Regions from separate parts of the Homo sapiens genome. Here all the other regions are linked to region 1. The links are contacts of gene promoters, found by promoter capture Hi-C in blood cells and fetal thymus (Javierre and others, 2016). All regions are on one chromosome and are shown on one strand. The core of a region is centred on a gene start or on the middle of the fragment in contact, and the rest is flanking DNA. Distances in the headings are between cores, read along the strand shown. Region 1 holds the start of SOX17 (SRY-box transcription factor 17). Region 2 holds the start of LYPLA1-TCEA1 (LYPLA1-TCEA1 readthrough). Region 3 has its middle 19 kb from the start of MRPL15. Region 4 has its middle 40 kb from the start of MRPL15.

Region 1 (3,139 bases), core at 1-2,500:
ACCTGCTTGCGCCGCCGCGGCCGGTACTTGTAGTTGGGGTGGTCCTGCATGTGCTGCACGCGCAGCCGCTCTGCCTCCTCCACGAAGGGCCGCTTCTCCGCCAGCGTCAGCGCCTTCCACGACTTGCCTGCACAGTGGAAGGAAGGGGGAGAGGGGCGCAGGGCTTATCGGCTGCGCTCCCGCTCCAGGCCCCACCTGGCCCCACCTGGACGCACCTCCCCCCTCAGACTTTGAATTGCGCAACCGGGGTGAAGTTAAAGAGGGAGATCTGGGACTCCTGAGTCCGAGCCCTTGGGGAACACCCGTCCTCTAAAGGCACCCCTTTCTTTTGGTCTCCTGGAAGCGGCTTTCCGCTCACCCATCACCCGGTCGTTCGAAAAACAGAAAAGGACACCTAACTAGGGAAGGGGTCGAGGGATGGACACAACCGGCCCAGTTCAGGGCCAAGGGTGCTCTCGCGCCGCCCGGAGGTGCCGGGAAGTCGCCTTCCCAGAGCCGTTGGACCCGCGCCCCCGGCCACCTGGGGAATCCGGGAGCCGGAGAGCAAGGCGGAAAGCTGCTTTGGAGGGTCGGAGGGCGGGAAGCGGGAAGGGAACCCAGAGCCTTAAGAAAGGACGTGGCCGCTACACACCCCTGGTTTTGGGCGTCAGGCTCGCAAAGAACAGTTTGGGGTTTAAGAAATCGGCCTAGCGATTCGCGCCAGCGCGCCCGGCCGCCTGGGTCTGCGACTCGGACTCACCCAGCATCTTGCTCAACTCGGCGTTGTGCAGGTCTGGATTCTGCTGCGCCAGCCGCTTGCGCTCGTCCTTAGCCCACACCATGAAAGCGTTCATCGGCCGCCGGATACGGGACTCGCCCTTGGCTCGGCCCGCGGCCCCGGCCGGTGCTCCGCTGTTCGCCGGCGCCTCGCCCTTCACCTTCATGTCCCCGATGGGGCTCAGCGACTCGGCCCAGGGGCAGGGGCCCAGCCCGGCCATCACCGCGGGCAGCGCGCTCTGGGTCTGGCTCTGGTCGTCACTGGCGTATCCCGCATCCGGGCTGCTCATGGCGCTCCAGGCCTGCCCCGCTCCCCTCAACCCTCCGCCGGACGCGCCGCCTCCCCCGACCCGGGGGAGGGGGTGGGGAGTGAGGCACTGAGATGCCCCGAGGGCTGCGCGGGTCTCCCGGCCCGAAGCCGCCGCCCGTGTTCTGGCCTGTCGCGGTCTGGTCTACAGCGTACCCAGGGCCCCCAGCCGGCCTAGTGACACTGCGGGCGCCCCTGGGCCGCGGGGCCTTTTCTGCACAGATGTGGCCAATGGAGCGGCGAGGGCGGGCCGGTCCCGCGTCGTTAGGCCCACGCCCAGGCCGTGGTCCGAGTCCCACGTCCCAGTCCAACCCCACGCCCGCCCCTTGCCCCTCCCCCGGCCCCGCGCCCAAGGCTACACCTGCCCCCGGGAAAACTAGCCGGAGCTGGGCTCTGGCGCCGCGTCCTCTCCCACCGGGGTTAGGGAGACTCGAAAAGCCGTCTGGGAGGGCTGATTGTACCTTGGAATCGACGTACTTGCCCAAGGTCGTTTAGATGAACATACCGAGCGTCCATTCTATTCTCTTTAAAGCACATCTTTTTGCAGAAGCCGAGGGTGTTTCAGTGGTGGGTGACCTAGTTTACTTCCAAGGAACTGCATGGGCATCTTCAAATGTGTTTTCTCAAATGCGAAAGACACCGTTGATAATAAATTTAAAAATACAATTTTTCCCCCAGGACTCAACTTGCCTGTGTTATATTCAAAATGCTGTGTCCAAGATAAATCCTAATTTTCTAAAGCAAGATTAAATATGGAACGACGTTCTGTATCCAATATTCCTTCACTCTAAAGAATAAAGCATTTACTCATGACAAGCCAACCAGTTTTTATGTGTATCTTATTATACACATCATGTGAAAGTACGAAAATGTATACATGATGTATATAAGATACGCATAACAAAACTGTTTCTCGTATGTGTTCAGTAACAGGTGAGCCTTAATACTGATTTCTAAAATGTAAAGACAGCAGCAATATTTGTCTAAATGTCCGAGTTTGTTTGGGGGAAGAGAACAATCTGTTTTAGCTGCAAAGTAACTGTGGTTCTTACAGTCAGTTTAAAGCGGTTATTCTGGCAGATAATTAGATTTCTATAAGTTTCTTTAGACTGGAATGAAATCTGAATGACTATTAAACTTGTGTTTCGATCTGGAAAAAAAAAAAGTTTTCAGTGGGACTTTTAAAACAAGCCGTTATACAACACTGAGAAATGACACAGCCTGCCACTGCTATTCCTAGCGCCCTCCAGCATTAGCAAAGAAGCATATCCTCATATTAACCCTGAGGTAGACTCTATCTTACAGGAAAGGAAACGGAGGCAGAGAAGTTAAGGAACTTGCTGGAGACTACAGCGTTGAGAAGGTGGAATTCACACCCAGCAGTCCGCCTTCAGACTTGCAGCTCTTAATAATCACTAAGCCAGGCTGTTGTGTTTGTGTATTTGTGTTGGTTTTTGAGGGCAACTAACAGCCATTCCTGCATAATTAGAGATAACTTTGCAAAGAAATCAATATACGAATCTCCAGAACAGATTTTCTTTATTATGAAGGCGTGATAAAAAAGTAGAGCTTACACCTGGAATCTGAGAAGTAAAATGCTGCTGCTTTGAGTGTGATACTACAACAACAAGACCGTCTGTCCAGTCTTGCTTATTAGTGGCATCCATAAAAATACAAAACTTTTGCAAACTCCTGGCCTTCAGTTTCTCTGGCATTGCTTTTTCTCAAAAGAACTCTTACACAATTGTTTTAAGCCAACTTATCTTTAATTCTGCAAGTATCTGTGAAGCCTTGGCTAGGGGACAAGTTAAGAAAGTGTTTCTAGTTCCTGGGTCTCTAAGATTCAAACAAGAAAAAAAATTAAATCTGCATAAAGAAATCATAGAGAGGTGTTACTTCTAGTTGGTAGTTTTGAAAGCGGTTGATTTTAGACAAATTTAAATGATGATGTACTTTTAAAGCTTTATTTTTTCTGAAAAAAAAATGGGCTTCAGTATAAAGCAAAAGCACATTGCAAATGATTAAATAAGCAACAAAACTATAGGAGGAGAGAGAGCAATCTACAAATTAACCCCG
Region 2 (3,139 bases), core at 264-2,763, 360 kb after region 1:
CTCATTCTTTTCACTACAGCGCCAGAAAAGCAAAAACCTAAACCAAGACCCAAGAGACCAGCCCTCAGCCTGCACCTGAGAGCACATTTTCCCTAGCCAGCACTGAGCATGCGCAGGCTGCGTGGTGTGGCGAAAGCGCAGCCAGGTCCGCGCTGCCGCCGCAGCCAATCGGAGGGAGGGAGCCGCCCGGACATTGTGAGGTGCCGAGGGAGGGGCGGCGGGCGAGGGGCAGGGCAGGGCGGACCCTGGACGCGCGGGCGCGCGCGGAAGGTAGCGCGGGGCCGCGTTGGCGCGCACGCGCCTGAGCGTGCGCCCGGTGGGGCCGGCCGGGACTCGCCGCTCGCACGCCCTTGGGCCGCGGCCGGGCGCCCGCTCTTCCTTCCGCTTGCGCTGTGAGCTGAGGCGGTGTATGTGCGGCAATAACATGTCAACCCCGCTGCCCGCCATCGTGCCCGCCGCCCGGAAGGCCACCGCTGCGGTGAGTGGCGTAGGCGTGGGCTCGGAGGGGTCCACTGGGCCGGCCACCGGTGGTTGCCCCTCGCGCGGGGTGGGCGTTGCGGGCGCGTGGCGGCCTGCGGACGAGGACGCTCCTCCCGGCCCGGGTGGGGTGCGAATGGTCCGCGCGGCCGGGTCCGCGGGGGGCGGGGGCAGCCGGGGGGTCACAGCCGGCGCGAGGGCCAGTCCCCAGCTCCTCCCTGCATTGCGGAGGAAGTGTGGCCCCGGGACCCCCGCGGGCCGGCCTAGGGCACGGCGTCAGCCTCTGCAGCGTGTTTCTGCCTGGTGTGTGGGTGAGGGAAACCTAAGTCCGCCAGGAAATCGCCTTATTGTCACCTCGCACTCTTATCCTCAATGAAAGAAGTTTGAAGATTGAGTGTCCTACAAGGTCAGACGTACTGTTTTTTAGAAAACTCGTGTATGAAAAGTCAAACTTATTTTTGCCTCCGGAAGCTTGCTTTTGCAGTGGAAAAATTCTACAGGATATGTGAGATGTTCCTGATTTCACTTGAAAGAGATAAACTGTTTTTCTTAGAATGTGATCATTTGCACTCAATGTCTAACTGGGACCTCTCAGTGCTACCCCCCCCCCATTCATTATCTCAGGAAATAAAGGGAGAAGTTGATCAGAATTTTTGCCATTTAAAAGAGGTCGATAAAGATTAAGTCGCCGAAGATAGTGTTGTGTAATTCTCTCGTAGGTTTCGTTCCGTTTTCCACCTTAAGCAAAGCTAGTGTGTAACAATCCTGTGTGGGCTTATTTAGGCATTGCTTATTAATTTTCCTCTTCTCTTATAGGTGATTTTCCTGCATGGATTGGGAGATACTGGGTAGGTACCATTATTATTAATAGTAACAGTAATGAAACTGGGTCATGCAACTTTTGTTTACGCGTTCAAAGGTTTAATGTTTAAGGGCGCTAAAATGGTATTTTAAGATTGCCAGTTAATGTATCTTACAGTGCGGTGATTTTATGTTTTGAAAACCCTCAGAATTTTCCCCTTATCATCGTGAGTTTATTGATTTTTTAACTCTGGTTTCTGGAACATATTAAAATTTCAAATTCCTCATTAGTTGCTTTGGGTATTGGATACCAGAGATCCGTGGAATGTTAGTAGGGACGGTGTGCAATTGAGAGCTTTCCAGAGCAGTTAAAATTTCAGAGCAGATTGAAGAGAAGAACTAGTTGATTTTGATAAGAGAACTAGTGGCAACATAAGGCATGCAGCATTCTGAATAGAGGGATTAGATGTTCACTCTAATGAGTTGAAAGGCAGGGGAGGCAACTCAAAGATTTATTTGGAGGCTTATCAAACAATTTGTTGTACTAACTACTTATTTTTATTTTATTTTTTGTTTGTTTGCTTTTTTCTTTTGTTATTATTTTTAGAGACAAGGGCTCTCTCTGTCGCCCAGGCTGGAGTGCAGTTGCAGGATCTTAGCTCACTGCAGCTTTGAACTCCTGGGCTCAAGTGATCCTTCAGCCTCAGCCTCTCAAAGCACAGAGATTAGAGGTGGGAGCTGCCTGAGCCTGGCCTTTTGTACTAACTTTAGATACATGATTTATCTTTTACTCAAGCTTTTTCTATATTGAGATGTTTTTGTTTTTATATTTAAATTGGTGATAATCTGTGAAACTTAAGCAAAATATGAATGTTGTTGAAAAATTGCAGAAATAGAGGAAAACTGAAGATAAATAAATTTTGATAAAGTAGCCCCAGAACGACTAAATTTTCTTTAAAATGAACCATTGGGGCCGGGCGCGGTGGCTCACACCTGTAATCCCAGCACTTTGGGAGGCCGAGGTGGGTAGTTCACTTGATGTCAAGAGTTCGACACCAGCTTGGCCAATATGGTGAAACCCCATCTCTACTAAAAATATAAAAATTACCCGGGTGTGGTGGTGCATGCCTGTAATCCCAGCTGCTAGGGAGGCTGAGAGAAGAGAATCACTTGAACCTGGGAGGCAGAGGCTTCAGTGAGCCAAGATTGCACGACTGCACTCCAGCCTGGGCCACAGAGTGAGACTCAAAAAAAAAAAAAATGCCATTAGGCTAGATTTTTGTTTGTTTGTTTGGAGACAGGGTCTGCTGTGTTGCCCTGGCTGGAGGGCAGTGGCGTGATCTTGACTCACTGCAACCTCCACCTTCTGGGTTCCTGGGTCTCCCGAGTAGCTGGGACTACAGTTGCTTGCCACCATGCCAGCTAATTTTTGTATTTTTAGTAGAGACAGAGTTTTGCCATGTTGGTTACGCTGGTCTCGAACTCCTGACCTCAAATGATCCACCCACCTGAGCCTCCCAAAGTGCTGGGATTACAGGCGTGAGCCACCACTTAAAAGTGATTCCTATTTTTTGCCTAATAAGTCGAGTTATGTAATACAAACTTTGTATGGAGTTACAGAAAAGGTTGCAGCACTCTTTCTGGCAATCCAGTGGTCCTGTGAAAATGATGAACTTATTTTACCAAATGAAACTCGAATAGCAGAATCTCTATTTTATGGCCAAACCTTTCTTGATGTTGCAAGTCAGGGAGAAGGTTGCTATCCTCTAACTTTGCCAATAATGAGCACTTCTATGCCTGAATGATTAGTTCAAGCAAAAAAAAAAAAACTTCAGTCTAGGCAGATTCCACAGACTGAAGC
Region 3 (3,139 bases), core at 287-2,786, 300 kb after region 1:
CCTCTCTGTGCCTCAATTTTTTTCAACTATAAAATGGCATAAATAAAAGGGTCTGGTGAGGATTGAATAAGATGAACAGATAAAGCTTTTAAAAACTCCTATATATATGGATGCTCGATAATCATCAGAATTATCTTTATAAAATTTCAAGTACATAGAAGAATATGAAGTCTCTTACATACAAATGGCCAAGAAGCTATTCTCATTCCACATGTTCCACATCATTATTAGTGAAATGCAAATCAAACCCACAATGAGAAACCATTTCGTGCCCACTAGAATGGTTATCATCAAAAATGCAGATAATAACAAATGTTGGCAAGGATGTGAGAAACAGGAACATTCATTTCTTGTGGGGGAGTAACATGGTGCAGCCACTTAGGAAAACAATTTGGCAGTTTCTTTAAAAGTCAAACATGGGCCAGGCATGGTGGCTCACACCTGTAATCCCAGCACTTTGGGAGGCTGAGGCAGGTGGATCACTTGAGGCCAGGTGTTCGAGACCAGCCTAGGCAACATAGTGAAACCCCATTTCTACTAAAAATACAAAAAAATTACGTGGGCTATGGAGGTGCGCACCTGTAATCCCAGGTACTCAGGAGACTGAGACACGAGAATCGCTTGAACCCGGGAGGCAGAGGTTGCAGTGAGCCAAGATGGTGCCACTGCACTCCAGCCTGGGTGACACAGTGAGACACTGTCTCAAAAAAAAAAAAAAAAGTTAAACATAAATTTGCTAATCTACTCAGCAATTCCACTGCTAAATATATTCCCAAGAAAAAGAAAAACATGTTCACATAAAGACTTGCAAACATATGTTTACAGTAGCATTATTTATAATAGCCCCACCATGGAAACAATCCACATGTCCACCAACTGATGAATGCATACACACTCCACACGATGGAAAGCTAGTTGGCCATAAAAAAGAATGAGGTACTGGAACATGCCACCACATGGATAACTTTCAAAACATTATGCCAAGTGAGGTCGAGCATGGTGGCTCACGCCCATAATGCCAGCACTTTGGGAGGCTGAGGCAGGTGGATCATGTAAGGTCAGGAGTTCAAGACCAGCCTGACCAAAATGGTGAAACCCTGTCTCTACTAAAAATATAAAATTAGACGGGTGTGGTGGCAGGTGCCTATAATCCCAGCTACTCAGGAGGCTGAGGCAGGATAATCACTTGAATCCAGGAGGCGGAGCTTGCAGTGAGCTGAGATCACACCACTGCACTCCAGCCTGGCGACAGAGCGAGACTCTGTCTCAAAAAAAAAAACTTGATTTATGAACACTTACAGAGGCACTTATGTGTCAGGCATTATGGTAAGTGCTTTACAAATATTGACTTCTTTCAATCTTCATACCCATATGCATTAGGATTAATCATCCCCCATTTTTCAGATGGTGAGACTGAGGCAGAGATATTAAGTAACATATCAAGGTCACACAGCTAGTCTTGGCATCTGAGCCCAAGTAAACTGCTCCAGGTGGCTCTGCAAACTGGCTGAGCTTCGTGTCTCCCCGCAAATAACCTCACTGGGTCTCCCAAACACAGAAGCACAGAGGTGGGTATGATTATCTCCATTTCACATGTGAGACAGATGAGAGCACAGCAGTTATGTGATGTGCCCGAGGTCACACAGCTGCTGTCAGAGCCTGGATTCAAATCCAGGTTTGGTGACATGGAAGCTGTGCTACTTCAACCATGCTATGTCTTTTCAGTAAAGCATCAAAATGCAGCCATTCTGGGATCTGTGCGAACATCAGAGAGCGCACTTTTTTCTCTGACACGAACTAAATTGGGTTACACTGCTGTTATCTGACATCTTCCCCGGCTATGGTAGAGCCACTCTCATTGTCAAAGAACAGAGAGTAGCATTTTTAAAAAAGAAAACCCGGGAACTCAATAGACAGGAAATCCCTAGCAATTATTTCTCTAAGGAGTTAAAAAAATATTTTAAAATCCATATTAACTCAATGGATTGGATGCAAACTAGCCACATATACTGGAAGCCACATACCACGAGAGGACTAAAATCTAGACTGAAGCATTCTTACTTTTATTCTTAGATTTCCAAGTAATATGAACCCTTAACAAGATAACAATACCATCTGCTAGCACACTCTCTGCCCCATTATCCTTGTACACGGCTGAAGGGCCATGGTATATCAGCATCATAGAGCCCAGTATTGCTGCGTAGTTACAATGAACTTGAGTCTCCCGGCTATACAGCAATTTGAGGATTAACTTTATTAAACAGAATAGACAGATTTTGTGGAACGTGCCTGTTTTGGCTGAGAACTTATCTGCACGATTCTAATATTGAGACCAGGATACAGCTGTTTGTGACTAAGCCCATGCTCACTGAGTAAGTACTATCTGAGCATTATTCATCACCAGACATCTGTTTCCTGTTTTCTTTCTTTCCTTTATCATTCTTTCCCAATTTCCTTTCACCTGTAGGCCACCTAAGACAACCACAGTGAAGTAAGTCTAATGTTTGACTGTCTCTTTTCCCTTCCGTAACTGTTGTTAGGGTAGTGTAGTCATTCTACTTGGAGGATGGGGGAGGGAACCCAAGGGTCACTCTGAGCCTGGAAGGCTGTTGCCTGTGCAGTCTATCTTTAGGTGACTAACTTCCTCCCTTGTTCCCCATTAAGAACTTTTCCTGTTGAGGCAGTACCAGCCCCTCCAAACATACAATTGTGAACTGAATCACAAATGGAAAACCTCCTGTGGCACAAATAAGGCAAGGCAGTAACTTACCTAAAGCAAAGCCAGTACACTCTGATATGAAAAAAATGGAACCTCTTACATGAATACAGAACACAGGATGTGTTTAAATTTAAGGAAGTTCATTTCTATGCAAATAGGTTGAGGTCAGAGAAGTTTTCCTCAGCCCAAGGGAACATCTTTATCATCAGTGTATTACAACAGACTTTAGAGGTCATTTTACACAGTCCTCATATTTTACAAAGCTTGTCATTGTATTTTACAGTCTAAAAGATGAAGTGATTTGTCTAATAGATTCCATTTTAAATGGCTTAAGAATAAGAGAGCGCAATTTAAATACCCCAATAATGAATATTCAGAAAATGTGTTGTATGAAAGGAGAGAAGGTTAGCCCTCCCCTTA
Region 4 (3,139 bases), core at 300-2,799, 280 kb after region 1:
CACCTACACGCACAGACACCATTACCAAAGGAAAGACAGCACAGCTGGCGAAACTTTGACTTTCCTCCTCAGTCTTTTAAATAGAGCATTCTACTCCTTAATTTATCCTGTTTTTGTTGTTGTTGTTGTTTATTTTTGTTTGTTTTTGTTTTTTTGAGATGGAGTTTGCTCTTGTTGCCCAGGCTGGAGTGCACTGGTGCGACCTCAGCTCACTGCAAGCTCTGCCTCTCGGGTTCAAGCGATTCTCCTGCCTCAGCCTCCCGAGTAGCTGGGATTGCAGGCATGCGCCACCATGCCCGGCTAATTTTGTATTTTTAGTAGAGACGGGGTTTCTCCATGCTGGTCAGGCTGGTCTTGAACTCCCGACCTCAGGTGATCCGCCCGCCTCGACCTCCCAAAGTGCTGGGATTACAGGCATGAATATGCTCATCCATATTCTAAGCAAGGGCTCTTGCCCATACACCTGGCTGCCCCTTCTACCTAGCTTATGGCTTTGACCTCATGACTTTCACTTGTCCCCTTTGGTCAATGTTTCCCATTCATATGATCAGTCTCCCCAAGGAACTAATAAGCTCCTCTCCCTTTTGTAAAACAGGACCTAATGCTTTGGTTAGACTTGAGTTTTCCCAGGTTCGTGTGTGTGTGTCTGTGTGTGTGTGTGTGTATGTATGTGTCTATGTACGGGTTCTCTCACACACACACCACCGTGGGGGGTCTAGAGCCCTTACCAGGCTTTCTGTAAAAAGCTAATGGCTGACCGGGTGCGGTGGCTCATGCCTGTAATCCCAGCAATTTGGGAGGCTGAGGTGGGCTGATCACCCGAGGTCAGGAGTTCCAGACCAGCCTGGCCAACATGGTGAAACCCCATCTCTACTAAAAATACAAAAATTAGCCGGGTGTGGTGGCACATGCCTATAATCTCAGCTAGTCGGGATGCTGAAGCACGGGAATCGCTTGAACCTGGGAGGTGGAGGTTGCAATGAGCCGAGATGGCGCCACTGTGCTCCAGCCTGGGCAACAGAGCGAGACTCAGTTTCAGTTAAAAAAAAAAAAAAGGTCACGGCAGCTAGGACCAGCTGCAGTTGGAGCAGGCAGCTGCCCTCCCAGGGCCATTCCTGTTCCCTACAGCCCCACAGGCCCTCTCTCCCCTAGGGGTCGAGTAGGAGACCAGTGCTATAAGCAGGAAACAGAGTTACACACATCTTTGGCACCACCCATGACAGAGCCCGGACTGGATTCATCACAGTTCTCCTAACGGCTTCCGCGTATGAGGCGTGAACTTCACCATCTCCATCTTGATTTTGACCTGTTTCTACGGGAACTGGGATCACAGGCAGGACTTTGCAGCACAACGCTGGCACCGATTTCACCTTTTCTGGGTGAAATACAGATTTGGTTGAACGACGGTCGCTTTCACTGCCTCCGGCTGAGGATTTGGTAGGGGCTCCTTTCAAGGCCACAGGTGTGGGTGACCCAGCCCCACCTCAAGCGGGCATGAAAGTACAGGCCGTGGAACCCGTCCGACCAAGGGTGATGAAAAGGGAAGTAGTGGGCACCATAGACACATGATTCCAGACCCCTCTTCATCCAGATTGTGGCTTGAGCCCTCAGCAATGATGTGGTTCCCATCCCTGCATCCCACACCGCAGCCCCAGGGCTCTCCCTGCCCAGGCAGCGCCGTCTGTGGCAAAGGCACACAGCGCAGATTGTAGGGTTTGGGGCTGGGCCAAGACCTACCAGGCTTCGCAACAGCGACTGGCAGCGGCTCCCTGCTACACGGGGCTTACTCCCCCAGCTCTGCCGGGGGCTCCACTCCCAAGCGGCTCCCCGTTTTCCTTCACTCACGGTGTCTCCTTTCCCCGGATTCCTGGGTTCAACCTTGATTTTCACCCATTGTCTCGCTTCCTCCTAGCCAGCCTTCTAACCCCACCGAACTGCTGCGCATTGACATTTACAAACGCACGCTTTAGGTAGAATAAACCGGCACCGCCCTATTCCCTACAGAATGTTCAGGAAGGATCTAGACAAGGGGACCCAGGCAGTCCCCGGGCCTGAAGGACGCAACTGGGAACCGGAGTGGAGTAACCCGGGTGCAGCGCCAGGCCACAGCCTGTAAACCTTTCTAAAATTACTCTCTCATCAAGGGTCTCTGAGGCCCTCACCTTCGAAAATTTCAGGTCAACAAGATGGCGTCTGAGCACTTACTTGGTGCCAGGCATAAAATAGCCCAGATCCCGGCCCTGGTGGACTCCGCATAACGAGGACGGCAGACAGAAATCAAATAACTATAAAAATAAACTTTAAAGTGTCTGAAGTGCTCCAGAGGAAAACTCAAAGGGCTCTAAAAGCAAATAACACATCCTGGGTATGTGATGGCATGAACTTTCCCAACAGCCCGGGAGTTTAGCCTGGTTAAGGAAGTGGCACCGTTATGCCTGCGGGGAATCGCCCTGAAGCGTGGGTGCGGGCGCAGCGGGGCTGCGGGAGGCCCCGGCATCACACAGCCCACAGGCTCCGGGAAAACGCAAGAGCGGAGGCGACCGCTTAGGCCCCGGCTCTCACCCCCGTCCTGGTAAATTGATGCAGCCCTGCCTGCTGCCACCATTCAATACGCCTGGTGTCTTCCGCAGCAGCAGAAAAACTGACCCTGGAGAATTTAAGCAGAAAAGTATTCCCTGCATTTCTCAAACAACCTGGAAAGACGCGAGAACTGCGCTCAGAAAACTGCAAGAAATGCGGCAGCCCAGGTGGGAGGAGTCCAGCCAAAATCACAGCAGAAGCGGAAGCCGGTGAGTAATGCTCGCGGGGCCCCCTAGCTCAGCGCACAGGCCCCAGGGTCAGCCTGTTTCCTTCACTTCTTAGTTTTTTTGTTTGTTTGTTTTCTTTTGATTCGGAGTCTCGCTCTGTCGCCCAAGCTGGAGTGCAGTGGCACGATCTCGGCCCACGGCAACCTACGCCTCCTGGATTCAAGCGACTCTCTTGCCTCAGCCTCCCGAGTAGCTGGGATTACAGGCACCCGCCACCACGCCCAGCTAAGTTTTGTATTTTTAGTAGAAAAGGGGTTTCACCACGTTGGCCAGGCTGGTCTGGAACTTCTGGCCTCAAATGATCCGCCCGCCTTGGCCTCCCAAAGGCCTGC

Evidence for each region. Contacts are between HindIII fragments. The CHiCAGO score rates a contact against its expected background, and 5 or more counts as called.
Region 2: a contact is called between a fragment that was not itself captured here and the fragment with the promoter of SOX17 in region 1, in 1 of 17 cell types (endothelial precursors). The highest score is 7.1, in endothelial precursors.
Region 3: a contact is called between a fragment that was not itself captured here and the fragment with the promoter of SOX17 in region 1, in 2 of 17 cell types (endothelial precursors and megakaryocytes). The highest score is 14.5, in endothelial precursors.
Region 4: a contact is called between a fragment that was not itself captured here and the fragment with the promoter of SOX17 in region 1, in 4 of 17 cell types (endothelial precursors, megakaryocytes, M1 macrophages and 1 more). The highest score is 25.3, in endothelial precursors.

What each region holds. Positions count from the first base shown.
Region 1 is chr8:54,456,046-54,459,184 of GRCh38, reverse strand. SOX17 (SRY-box transcription factor 17) reads right to left here and starts at 1,250. Exons shown (of 2, transcript NM_022454.4): 1 at 740-1,250; 2 at 1-127. The coding sequence starts at 1,046. The HindIII fragment of the contact is 4,543 bases long and covers 1-3,026 here.
Region 2 is chr8:54,099,094-54,102,232 of GRCh38, reverse strand. LYPLA1-TCEA1 (LYPLA1-TCEA1 readthrough) reads left to right here and starts at 286. Exons shown (of 21, transcript NM_001425842.1): 1 at 286-478; 2 at 1,294-1,325. LYPLA1 (lysophospholipase 1) reads left to right here and starts at 286. Exons shown (of 9, transcript NM_006330.4): 1 at 286-478; 2 at 1,294-1,325. The coding sequence starts at 410. RefSeq lists a silencer at 163-732. The HindIII fragment of the contact is 1,126 bases long and covers 951-2,076 here.
Region 3 is chr8:54,152,845-54,155,983 of GRCh38, reverse strand. It overlaps the pseudogene RNU6ATAC32P. Among named protein-coding and RNA genes, the nearest start is that of MRPL15, 19 kb to the right of the region's middle. The HindIII fragment of the contact is 2,897 bases long and covers 88-2,984 here.
Region 4 is chr8:54,174,167-54,177,305 of GRCh38, reverse strand. No RefSeq gene overlaps it. Among named protein-coding and RNA genes, the nearest start is that of MRPL15, 40 kb to the right of the region's middle. The HindIII fragment of the contact is 5,152 bases long and covers 1-3,139 here.